Regions from separate parts of the Homo sapiens genome. Here region 2 is linked to region 1. Evidence: promoter capture Hi-C in human tissues and cell types (Jung and others, 2019). All regions are on one chromosome and are shown on one strand. The core of a region is centred on a gene start or on the middle of the fragment in contact, and the rest is flanking DNA. Distances in the headings are between cores, read along the strand shown. Region 1 holds the start of COL8A2 (collagen type VIII alpha 2 chain). Region 2 overlaps AGO3 (argonaute RISC catalytic component 3).

What was found. The method cuts DNA at HindIII sites, captures the fragments that hold promoters and counts their contacts. A contact is called where the count stands out against the background at its distance.
Region 2: a fragment that was not itself captured here is called in contact with the fragment with the promoter of COL8A2 in region 1 in 10 of the 25 tissues and cell types used here (H1 embryonic stem cells, adrenal gland, dorsolateral prefrontal cortex and 7 more).

The regions. Positions count from the first base shown.
Region 1 is chr1:36,122,399-36,127,582 of GRCh38, forward strand. It overlaps COL8A2 (collagen type VIII alpha 2 chain), which reads right to left and starts at 2,824. Exons shown (of 4, transcript NM_005202.4): 1 at 2,659-2,824. RefSeq lists a silencer at 136-336. The HindIII fragment of the contact is 15,339 bases long and covers 1-5,184 here.
Region 2 is chr1:36,066,762-36,071,818 of GRCh38, forward strand. AGO3 (argonaute RISC catalytic component 3) reads left to right here. Exons shown (of 19, transcript NM_024852.4): 19 at 1-5,057. Among named protein-coding and RNA genes, the nearest start is that of TEKT2, 15 kb to the right of the region's middle. The HindIII fragment of the contact is 8,465 bases long and covers 1-5,057 here.

The DNA of each region.
Region 1 (5,184 bases), core at 1,574-4,073:
TCTCTTTCTGGGAGTCAGACTTCCATGACTGGTACTTGGGCACATGTGTGTCCACATATGGCCTCGCAAACCCACCCAGGCTTCAAGGCTACACTCAGCCTCCAGCTCCCAGTCATCTCAACTTATCAGACCCCAGCGCCAAACCCACATCTCCCCTGCACCTGCCTTCTCTGGGGACAGGCCACAGCCATCCAGTGCAAGGCTTCTGGCCCCATCGCCAACCGGCTTACTCCTTTCCATCTACTTCTTCCTCTCATCCCCATGGCAACCGCCCACTTCATCCCCCGTCACCTTTCTCCTTAAACTCTGCCCAGCCTCCTCTGTGATCTCCCTTGCCTCGAAGATCCCCCCTTCATCCTTGTTCCCCAGAGCAGCCAGAGTGATTCCCAGATTATATCATTCGCAGCTCACACCCTTTCTCTAGACAGGGCCCTTAGAAATCTGACCTCAAAGTCATGAGTCCCTCCCACTCCCCAGTGTGATCCAACAGTGCCCATTACTCCCATTACTCACTGTCCCTGAGAGAACCCTGAAGCTTCCCCCTCCACACCTCTGCACGAGCTGTGCCCTCAGCCAGGAACACCCTCCCATTCACCCTTTCCACCCCCTGCACCTGTCAAAATTATCATCTTCGAAAGCCCTGGCCAGATTACCTCTTAGGTGCCACCTTCCCTGATCTGCACTTTGGCTTGCATGGTGCCCCTCCTCGGGTACCTAGTAGGGCACCGTGAGACCACAGCCACACCCCAGAGGAGAGGCCGCTGTGTCTCTCTCGTTCCTCCGACCCGACACTATAATTTCCTCCTGCCACGGATGGGACCAGCGCATCTGAGACCCCACTTCCCTGTAAGAGGTGCCCCATCCCTGCCACTGAGAGTTCTGGAGCGGGCTGGGGGGCCAGCAGGGCAAGGAAGCTGGGGCTGTGCGTCCTTTGTTCCGGCTCAGGCAGGAGCAGAGAAGGTAGTGGAGTACAGGGGCTCAGGCTGACAGCCCTGCTTAGTATCTTTCTCCTCCCTCTTGCTAACAGACACATTCACTTCCATATTTTCTTTCCCCTTCCTCTGAGCCAAAGAGCGGAAATTCTCATTTTCACTGTGGTAGACGAAGTGAAACCAGAGAAAGAGACCCTGGTGAGTGTGTCTGGGTGTGAGCGTATGTGTGTGTGTGCCGTCCTGTCTGAGTATGTCTGGCTGGGCCACGTGGGGCCTGCCATGTGTCTGTAGGAGTTTGGGTGTGTGTGCATGTGTCCGCCTGTGTCTTGTGGTGGTGTATGTTTCATTAGAGGAGGGTGTCCGCATGAATCTAATGAATGTTTGGGTCGGTGTGTGACTGTGCATGGCTCTCAGAAGGGTGCAAGGCTGTGTGTGGCTGGGTGAGCATGTCTGTGGTTTCTCCTCATTATCATCTAGGGTCATTGTGTGTCCAAGGGTTTGTAGGTGTTCACCAGTCCACTGGGAAGCCAGTGACAGCACCTGTGCCCTGATGGAGACCACCAACCATGGTGTCTCTCCAGAGATCACCAACTCCTGCCCTGCGGCCCCCTCTGCTTGGGGCAGTAAGGATCAGTCGATCTTAGCTCAGTCCCCAGAGAGGAACCCCAGGCTGCCTGACCCTCCAGCCATCCAGCTCCACGGCCCCCAGATTTTTCAAATGCCCAGTACAGCTGCTGGGAGGCTGTCCTTGCCAAGGGGACTCTGCTAAGAGGAGTGGATGAGCCCCTGCTGCCAGCCTGAGCAAGAGGTACTGATAGCAGACAGGAGGGATGATTTCTGGTTGCTCCGGCACCCCTAAGGAGGTCAGCCGCACGTCTGTGTCAGGAACCCAGCATGGTCTCACACAGGCACACACACGTGCGTGCACACATACAACCAGCAAAGTTTTCCCCGTGGCAATAGCGTTCCTGGGCCCTCTGGCTGAATAGCATTTCTCTACCTGGAGGATTTCCGGGGCTAGGGTGGCTCCAGACCCAGGGCAGAGACACTGGGAGGTTGTTCTGGGGCCCTGGGACCCCAGTCCCTCTTGGCCAGGCAGCGGCCCCTCACCCCCTGCAAGTCTCAGTCTGGAGCTGGGGGGATGCTGAGCCCCTGACAGGAACATTCCTGGGAACTTGTCTTCAGTTTGGGGCGAGGGGACTGACAGGGCACCTAGAATAGGAGGAACCTGGGGGCTAAGGCAGAAAAACCTTATAACTGGAAGGTCTCCAGCAAATCAGCAATGGCAGAGAGATGGGGGCAGGAGTGAGAGCGGGGGGATGCTAAGGCCCCTCACTCCCTCCTCTCTCCTCCACTACCCTGTGAAGGCGGCTTTTTTATCCCCACTTTACAGGTGGGACGGGAGATCGGGAGGTGGTGACGCGCCCAGAGCCACATCGTCGGGGGTTGCACCCGGCACTGTCTTATGCTGGAGCCCTCGCTTCTGGGAGAGGAAGGGAGGAGGGGGCTTTACTGGGATCCTGCCGGGGAGGGAACGGGGCACAGGGAACGGGATGGGCTCCCCCATTCTAAGGCGACCCCCTGGCCCGAGTCCCCCACCGCGTCCCCACCCCGGAGTCCGAGGCGCCGGCCCTGCTATCCCGCATGGTGTTGGGGGAAGCCCAGCCCAGGTCTTGCCCTCGGAGCCCCCCAGCCCGAGCCCCGGTGCCCGCCTCCTGGCCTTTACCTGCGGGCGCGGCCGCCGGGCGCCGCTCCCGGCCCTCGAGGGCGGCCCGGGCGGCGAGGGCTCCGGGCAGGGGCGTCCGCGGCTGGGCGGGCGGCGTTGGGGTCCGGGGTCCGCGCCGGCGGGGTTCCGCGTCGCTCTGCCGGCCGCCCCTCGCGGCTGCCGGAGTGGGCGGGCGGCAGGAGGGGCGCGTCGGGGCGGGGCCTCCGCCCTCCTCTTTCCACAGCCACGGCCAAGGCCCGCGCCCCGCCCGGCCCAGCGCGCCCAGCGCGGACTCGGACGGCTGCCTCCCTCCCCGACACCCACGCCGAGCCCCCTCCACACACGCGCTCCCGGGCGGCCCGCCCCCATCCCTCCCCGTCCACCTGACCCGCGGCTCGGCCGCCGGGGAGTCCGCGCAGCCCCTGCCCTCGAGGGGCCACCTGCCTGTGGGGACGGACGCGGCTGCTGAGAAGGACGGCCAGGCGTGGTCCTGCAGGGAAGGGGCAGCTCGGGCTGGTGGCCCCCAGTGAGGAGTCCCCAGAAGGCTGCCTGCAGACGTGACCTCGGTAGGCTGAGCCCGGAGGACTCACAGGGGCCAGTCGTGACCCGCACATTCAGGCTTTAGGGCATTGAGCCGGGGTCACAGAGGCAGGCGGGAGCAGGCCAGACCTCGTCCCTCGGAAATGGGGAGTCACGGAAGGCTCTGGAGCAGGGCAGTCACGTGGTCAGATGTGTGCTTTGGAAAGAGCCTCCCGAAGCTGTGTGGAGGAAGATAGAGGCAGGCCACCGAGGAGGCTGCGGGAATACCCTGGCATGGTCCCATGAGGTGCACAGTGAGGGGGAAGGAAAGGGAGGGCCCAGTGTGAGGGGAGTGAGGAGGCGAACTAGGCAGAGTTTGGGCGAGGGGCCTAGGAAGAAGCAGTGTCAAGGACAGTGCGCAGGCTTTGGGCTAGGCCTGGGGGCGGCAGGGTCTAGGAGAAGAAGGAGGACGGATGTAATGAATTGGATGAGCCTGTGGGACTTCCATGGATCCGGAAGGGAGGTGAGAGTTCTGGGATAGCGAGGAGGAATCCACGGTTTGCAGATGGCGACTGATGCCATAGAATAAGGAGCGGGCCCAGGGAGGCGGGCAGGGCGCGGGCAGGACACTCATCAGCATTCACGGGGCTGCCCAGGGAGAGGGGTCGGCAAAGGAGACTGAGAAGATGGCAGGGACCGGGAGAGCAGTGTCCCAGAAGGCAAAGGCAGAGTGCTTCTAGAAGGCCAGGGAGGCCCACGGGATGGGCTGTCACAGAAGGACATTCTTAGGGACAGCAATTAAGGGTTGGAGGTTGGGGTGGGGGTAGGGGCAGTAGCCAGGCAGCAGGGGAGAAAGGAGGAGGCAGCAAGTGCAGAGGGAAGGGGAGATGAGGTCAGGAAAGGATTTTGGGGTGTGTGTGTGTGTGTGTCTGTGTGCGTGTGTGCATGTAGGTGAGTGTGGGTGTCTGTGTGTGCATGTAGGTGGGTGTGGGCGTGTGTGTGCGTGCATGTGTGTGTGCGCGTGCCTGTGTGTGTACGTGTAGGTGGGTGTGTGTGTGTGTGTGTGCATGTGTGTGTGTGTGCGTGCCTGGGTGTGTGTGTGCATGCGTGTAGGTGGGTGTGGGCATATGTGGAGGTATGTGTGCTTGGGTGTGCAAGTGTGTGTGTGCGCGCATGGGTGGGGGGTCAGCATGTGTGTAGGTGTGTGGAGGGGTGGGGGTGTGTATTTGTGTGCGTGTGGGGAGGTATGTGCGTGGGGGGGTGTGGGGGGTGTGGCTGCATTTGGGTGTGTGGATGTGGCTATGTGGCTTTGTGTGGGTGTGTGTGGCTGTGTGGGTGTATTGTAGCTTTGTGTGTGTGGCTGTGTGGGGGGGTGTGAGTGGGAGTGTGTGTGGGGGGCTGTGTTTGGGGGTATGGGTGTCTGTGTGTGTGGGTGTGTGGGTGCCGCTGTGTGTTTGTGGGTATGGGTGTGTGTGTGGCTGTGTGTGGGGATGGGAGTGTGTGTGTGGCTCTGTGTTTGTGGGTGTGGGTGTGTGTGGCTGTGTGAGTGTGGGTGGGAGTGTGTGTGTGTGTTTGTGTGTCTGTGGGGGGGTGTGGGTGGCTGTGTGTGGGGGTGAGTGTGGCTGTGTGTGTGTGTATTTTCAGTGGGAAAGAGCAGAGCCCTCACCAGGTCCAGGAAAGGAGCAGGGAGGGCCCCAGGCTGTCTCGGGTCAGGGCCCACCCCCCTCAACCTTCCCCCTTCTGCTGCCTGCCCTCTGAGGGCCTCCCACTTTTCTGTCCCCCTGCCAAGGTACACACCAGCCCCGCCACTCCACAACGGGGCCTCTCACCCTCACCTACCGTCAGAGCCTGGCCCACTCCATCCCACCCGTCAGAATTGGGGGCAATTGCCAGGGGTCTTTGGGTCTGGCCTCCTGGCCTGAACTACAGGGGAGCCAGGCTGGGGCACTGCCCAGAGAAGGGAGGGGGCCTGGCTGGCAGGGTGCCTAGGAGGACACCGACTGAGGGGAGATTGCAGAGTTCTGACCC
Region 2 (5,057 bases), core at 92-2,591, 57 kb before region 1:
ACTGGAGGTCTTTGTAAAGAAATAGACTAGTAGGATTGTGAGAATATATAGTGAGGGGGGATTTAGGATAAGGCTTCCTTGCTGGGATCCTTGGACAGAAACCTTACAATTGTTTAATATTTGCAGAGTAAAAGAGCAGCTATTGCTATTTGAACCTACAGAAGAGACCTAAGACGAGCGTCTCTGTAATCTAAATTTATATGATAATGTTGTCCCAGACCCAAAGGCACACCTATTCTCAGTAACTTAGAGAAGTCTTGGAAGTTGCTTCTGAATTACAGTAAAGAAATTAAATGAAGTCTTTATCCTTAAATAGGGCCAGGCATTGCTATCAACATAGTGTCTTTGGTTTTCCCCTTTAAATAGAAAACACCAAGCAGGGCCTTTCCAGACAATGTAGTCTTTCCTGTAAAGAAAATGGTTTTGGTGTGGGATTTGGTAAAAACACTGGTTAGTTTGTAATGAAGAAAGAATTTTGGCATAGACAGTCCGACCCAGTTCATGGATACAGTTTGATCCCAGGGAGTTTAACAAAAGGAAGCTTTGGTTTTGCTAGCAACAGACTTGATCTTCTATAGTAATTAATTGCAATTAAGGTTTTCCAGGAGCTTTCTCATTTCTTAGCCCAGGGTCCAACCCCATTCCCTCTTTAAAAAAGAAAGAATAGGCCGGGAGCAGTGGCTCATGCCTGCAATCCCAGCACTTTGGGAGGCCAAGGCAGGTGGATCACAAGGTCAGGAGTTTGAGACCAGCGTGGCCAATATGGTGAAACCCTGTCTCTACTAAAAATACAAAATTAGCTAGGCGTGGTGGCAGGCGCCTGAGGCTGAGGCAGGAGAATCCTGCTAGTCTGAATTACAATAAGGAAATTAAATGAAGGATTTATCTTTAATAGAGCCAGGCATTGCTATCAACATAACATGTTTGGTTTTCCCCTTTAAATAGAAAACACCAAGCAGGGCCTTTCCAGACAAGGTAGTCTGGAACCCAGGAGGCGGAGGTTGCAGTGAGCCGAGATCCCACCATTGCACTCCAGCCTGGGTGGCAGAGTGAGACTCCGTCTCAAAAAAAAAAAAAAGAAGGAATAGGAAAAGGACTTAGAGGCAGTTGATATAGAATTCTACTGGGGGTAAATGACACTCTCAAAATACTTGGGAAAGAAGAATCACATGCCACAAGCTATAGCTTGATTAATATTTTAGCATGTTTTCCATGTTTGTATTCTAAAGTTTGTTTCCTTTGACATTCCATTATCTTACTTACTAGAGTGCCACCATTCTTATTTGTAATACAATCAGTGTTTTATGCCATTTGTGAATCACACAATTGTTCTTTTTTCCCCATCACACACACTCACACACAAACACACACACTGTTAAAAATAAAAGAGGGGAAGGATAAAACAAAAATAGATAGAATGATGATTATTACAATGTAACTTTAACATATATGAAGAGAAATTCTAACTCAGTTAAGTGAGAATTAAGATTGAAAGTATTAATGTTGCAAGTATTATCTCTAGCCATGGAATTTTTTGCTGGCTATAGAATGCTAATGTGAACAGAGTATATATCAGGAATATGATGTATTATGGCACAGTGATAATATTATTGTTGATATTAGCCAGATGTGGTGGTTTGCACCTGTAGTCCGAACTTCTCAGGAGGATGAGGCAGGAGGATAGTTGAGCCCAGGAGTTTAAAGCAAGCCTGGGCAATACAGCAAGACCCCAATCTTTAAAATAAATAAATAAATAAGAATTATTCTTGAAAGTAATATTCTAACCTTCTGCCAACCAACAGAGATCCTCATATTCTTAAAGAAAATTAATATAGCTTATGGTTTTGATAAATTGGACTCTGATTTAAACTTTAAAATGTTATGACTTTTATTCTGATACATGGCTTCTAAAATATGTAAAAAATTATATTGAATGAATTAATACTTAACCTGTTCATTTCTCTTAATTTATGTATTTATTCTGACTTTATTATACAGCTTATGTCTCACATCTGCCTTCTTGATATGTGCAAAATATTGTGTAAAAATAGTTTAAAACTCATCCCAGTTCCTAGTCAAGCGTGGGCTATAAGAGAGAAGGCTTAAGGTGTTCTTTAATGGAGGAACTTTTGAAAGATCACAAATGGAAAAAGCCTATTGAGAATTTATTGCCTTTGAGAGTAGAAAGGGCTCTAGAATATGAGCCAGAGACTTGGAATTTAGTAATAGGTCTCCCACTGATTTGCTCCGTGTCCTTAGGCAATTCGTTTAATCTCTGTGTGCCTAGTTTCCCCTTGTAAATAAGAGTGGTAATACCTGTCCTCACCTACCTCACTAAATTGTTGGAGTTCTTTTGTTCTGAGTCAGGGTCTCACTCTGTTGCCCAGGCTGAACTACAGTAGTGTGATCATAGCTCACTACAGCCTCCAACTCCTGGGCCCAAACTATCCTCCTGCTTCAGCCTCCCAAGTAGCTGGGACTAGAGGTACATGCCACCACACCCAGCTAATTATTTTCTTTTATTGCAGAGATGGGGTCTCACATGTTGCCAAGGCTGATCTCTAACTCCTGAGCTCAAGCAGTCCTCCTGCCTCAGCCACCCAAAGTGCTGGGATTATAGGCATGATCACTAAATTGTTGTAAGAATAAGATAATGTTTGCGGAAGCATTTGAGTTCTCCAAAGGAAAAGCTATTCAGACGTTCAAGATAATAGAAGAGTGTTGTGTGAAGGATTCCTTTCCAGTTTGCCTCTGTGAAAATGTCTTTGTTGTAGATCATTTTATGAAATAGGAATAAGAGAAACATAGGCCTTATCATGGTGTAGTGTTCACTTACAAACATATCCTGTTGTTTCTTCCCTGCAAGATATCCAGCACACAGGCTGAATTTTTCTTTATAATAATCCTTGGCAAAAGCATAACTTTTCAAAAACCAAATGATTTTAGTGGTGCTATGGCAGCTGCAGTTTTGAGTTAGATTAATGTGGTGAAAACCATCAAATACTTAGAAATTGACTGGGTGCGGTGGCTCATGCCTGTAATCCCAGCACTTTGGGAGGCCGAGGTAGGTGGATCACTTGAGGTCAGGAGTTCGAGACCAGCCTGGCCAACATGGCAAAACCCCGTCTCTACTAAAGATACAAAAATTAGCTGGGCACGATGGAGGGTGCCTGTAATCCCAGCTACTCGGGAGGCTAAGGTGGGAGAATTGCTTGGACCCAGGTGGCAGAGGTTGCAGTGAGCCAAGATTGTGCCACTGCACTCCAGCCTGGGCAACAAAGCGAAGCTCTGTCTCAATAAAAAAAAAAATAATAATAATAAAATACAAATACTTAGAAATTAACTTCGCCTTTGCCTTCAGGCACTTTTGCTACATGTTAGCATCAGAGGCTATTGTACAACTAGATGGTTATTCCCTGTTTCTTGGCCGATTTTTGGTACCTTTCTTTGAAGAAGAGGGTTAGATTTTAAGAAAGAAAGTGTGCTTATTTCACTCATGTCTTTGCAGAATTTAACTTTGCTTTACTTTAAAAATTCCAATCATCATGTACCTATAAAGGTTAAAATATAGTGAAAGTTTCTGCTTCATGTGAATTCAATTCTGAGCACCTGCAGGTCATATCAGGTGTCTGATGCAGTTACCTTTATAGATCGTGGCAGGTCCTTACATTTCAACAGGCTTATGCATTTCCATGGGGGGAAGAGATTCTGTTTCTAGGAAATTACAAAGGGCACACCACTGCAGGGAGTGTAAACAATTCTTTGTTGCAACAGACAAGATTTTTTTTAAAAAAAGAAAAAAGGATGCATTTTAGGTACACAGGGTATGGACGCATTCAACATTTACTTTTATCTCCACAGATGCCAACCTCCCCTTGTTGCAGGCAGTTGGGCTTTTCCAACTCATTGCTAACAAAGCTGGCATCTGCATTAATTTCAATGAGAATTTCAAGTACTGAAGATGAAAAGTTGGGGAGATTCATGTTTGAAAAATGAAAAATGAACAAAAAATCCACCTTGTGCAGTGAGATAGCTAACGCTGATATATCAGGAATAATTTTAAACTATTTTTGCTGTAATGTGTAGCTTTAATGTCTCTTTTCAGTTATGGACCCATAAAAGTATTCCTATATCTTGTGAATAAAGATCATTCTTGTGGACTAGTACGTGGATGCATTCATAGGCTTTGGGAAGCAGTGGTGTGCGTATGTGTGTCTATATCAATATTTTATGTTTATAACTCTGCGTATTAAGTTTATATAGAAAAAAATAATGTCTTTCTTTAGTGTTTGGGGGACTCAATGGTAATATGACCATTGCAGTGTAATCTGACTGCTCACTCTAGAGAACACTTCTGTTATACACAATGCACATACAAACATACACCCCTAAAGCGTAGCTAACTGCTCCCACTAGATAATTGCTGCTAAAAACAAAACAAAACAAAACAATACAAAACAAAAAAAACCCTAAGTAATGGAGGAAGAAATAGCATTCTTTTAAAAGGGGCTTTTCTGAAGAGTAAAATGTAAATACAGGACATGTGGGGAGGGTGGGGCCGCCTGCAAAATGTCCTGAAGATGGACAAATAGCCTTTTAAATTCTACTTTTTAACCATCTTTACCGTGTGTGCCTATTTGTATTGCAGATGTGAACTACTATTTTTGGAGGTTGATATCAGTATGTTTTGAAACTGAATTATTACATAAAATCAGAGTAACCTCTTTCTCCATCCTCCTTTTCCACACTATTCTTGCCAAATATTTCTACTGAAACCCAGTTTCAGCAAGGCAAAATGATGGGACTCTCAAACCTCCCTCCTCATCTTCCCTTCCCCTCTGTCTTATGCCTGGCCTGGCCTTTTTTGTTGTTGTTGGCTTTTCATAAGTAAGAAAAATTTATTGTAGTATTTCAAGACTGCAGAATTTCAAGTGTATATCTATAAATCTTTTTTTAAAATCTTCGGCTACACAGTAACATCAATTAAAACAGAAGAGTGAGTCTAAGTCTGTAATATGCTGTAGGACCAGATAAGATTTTGAATGAGACTAAACTTG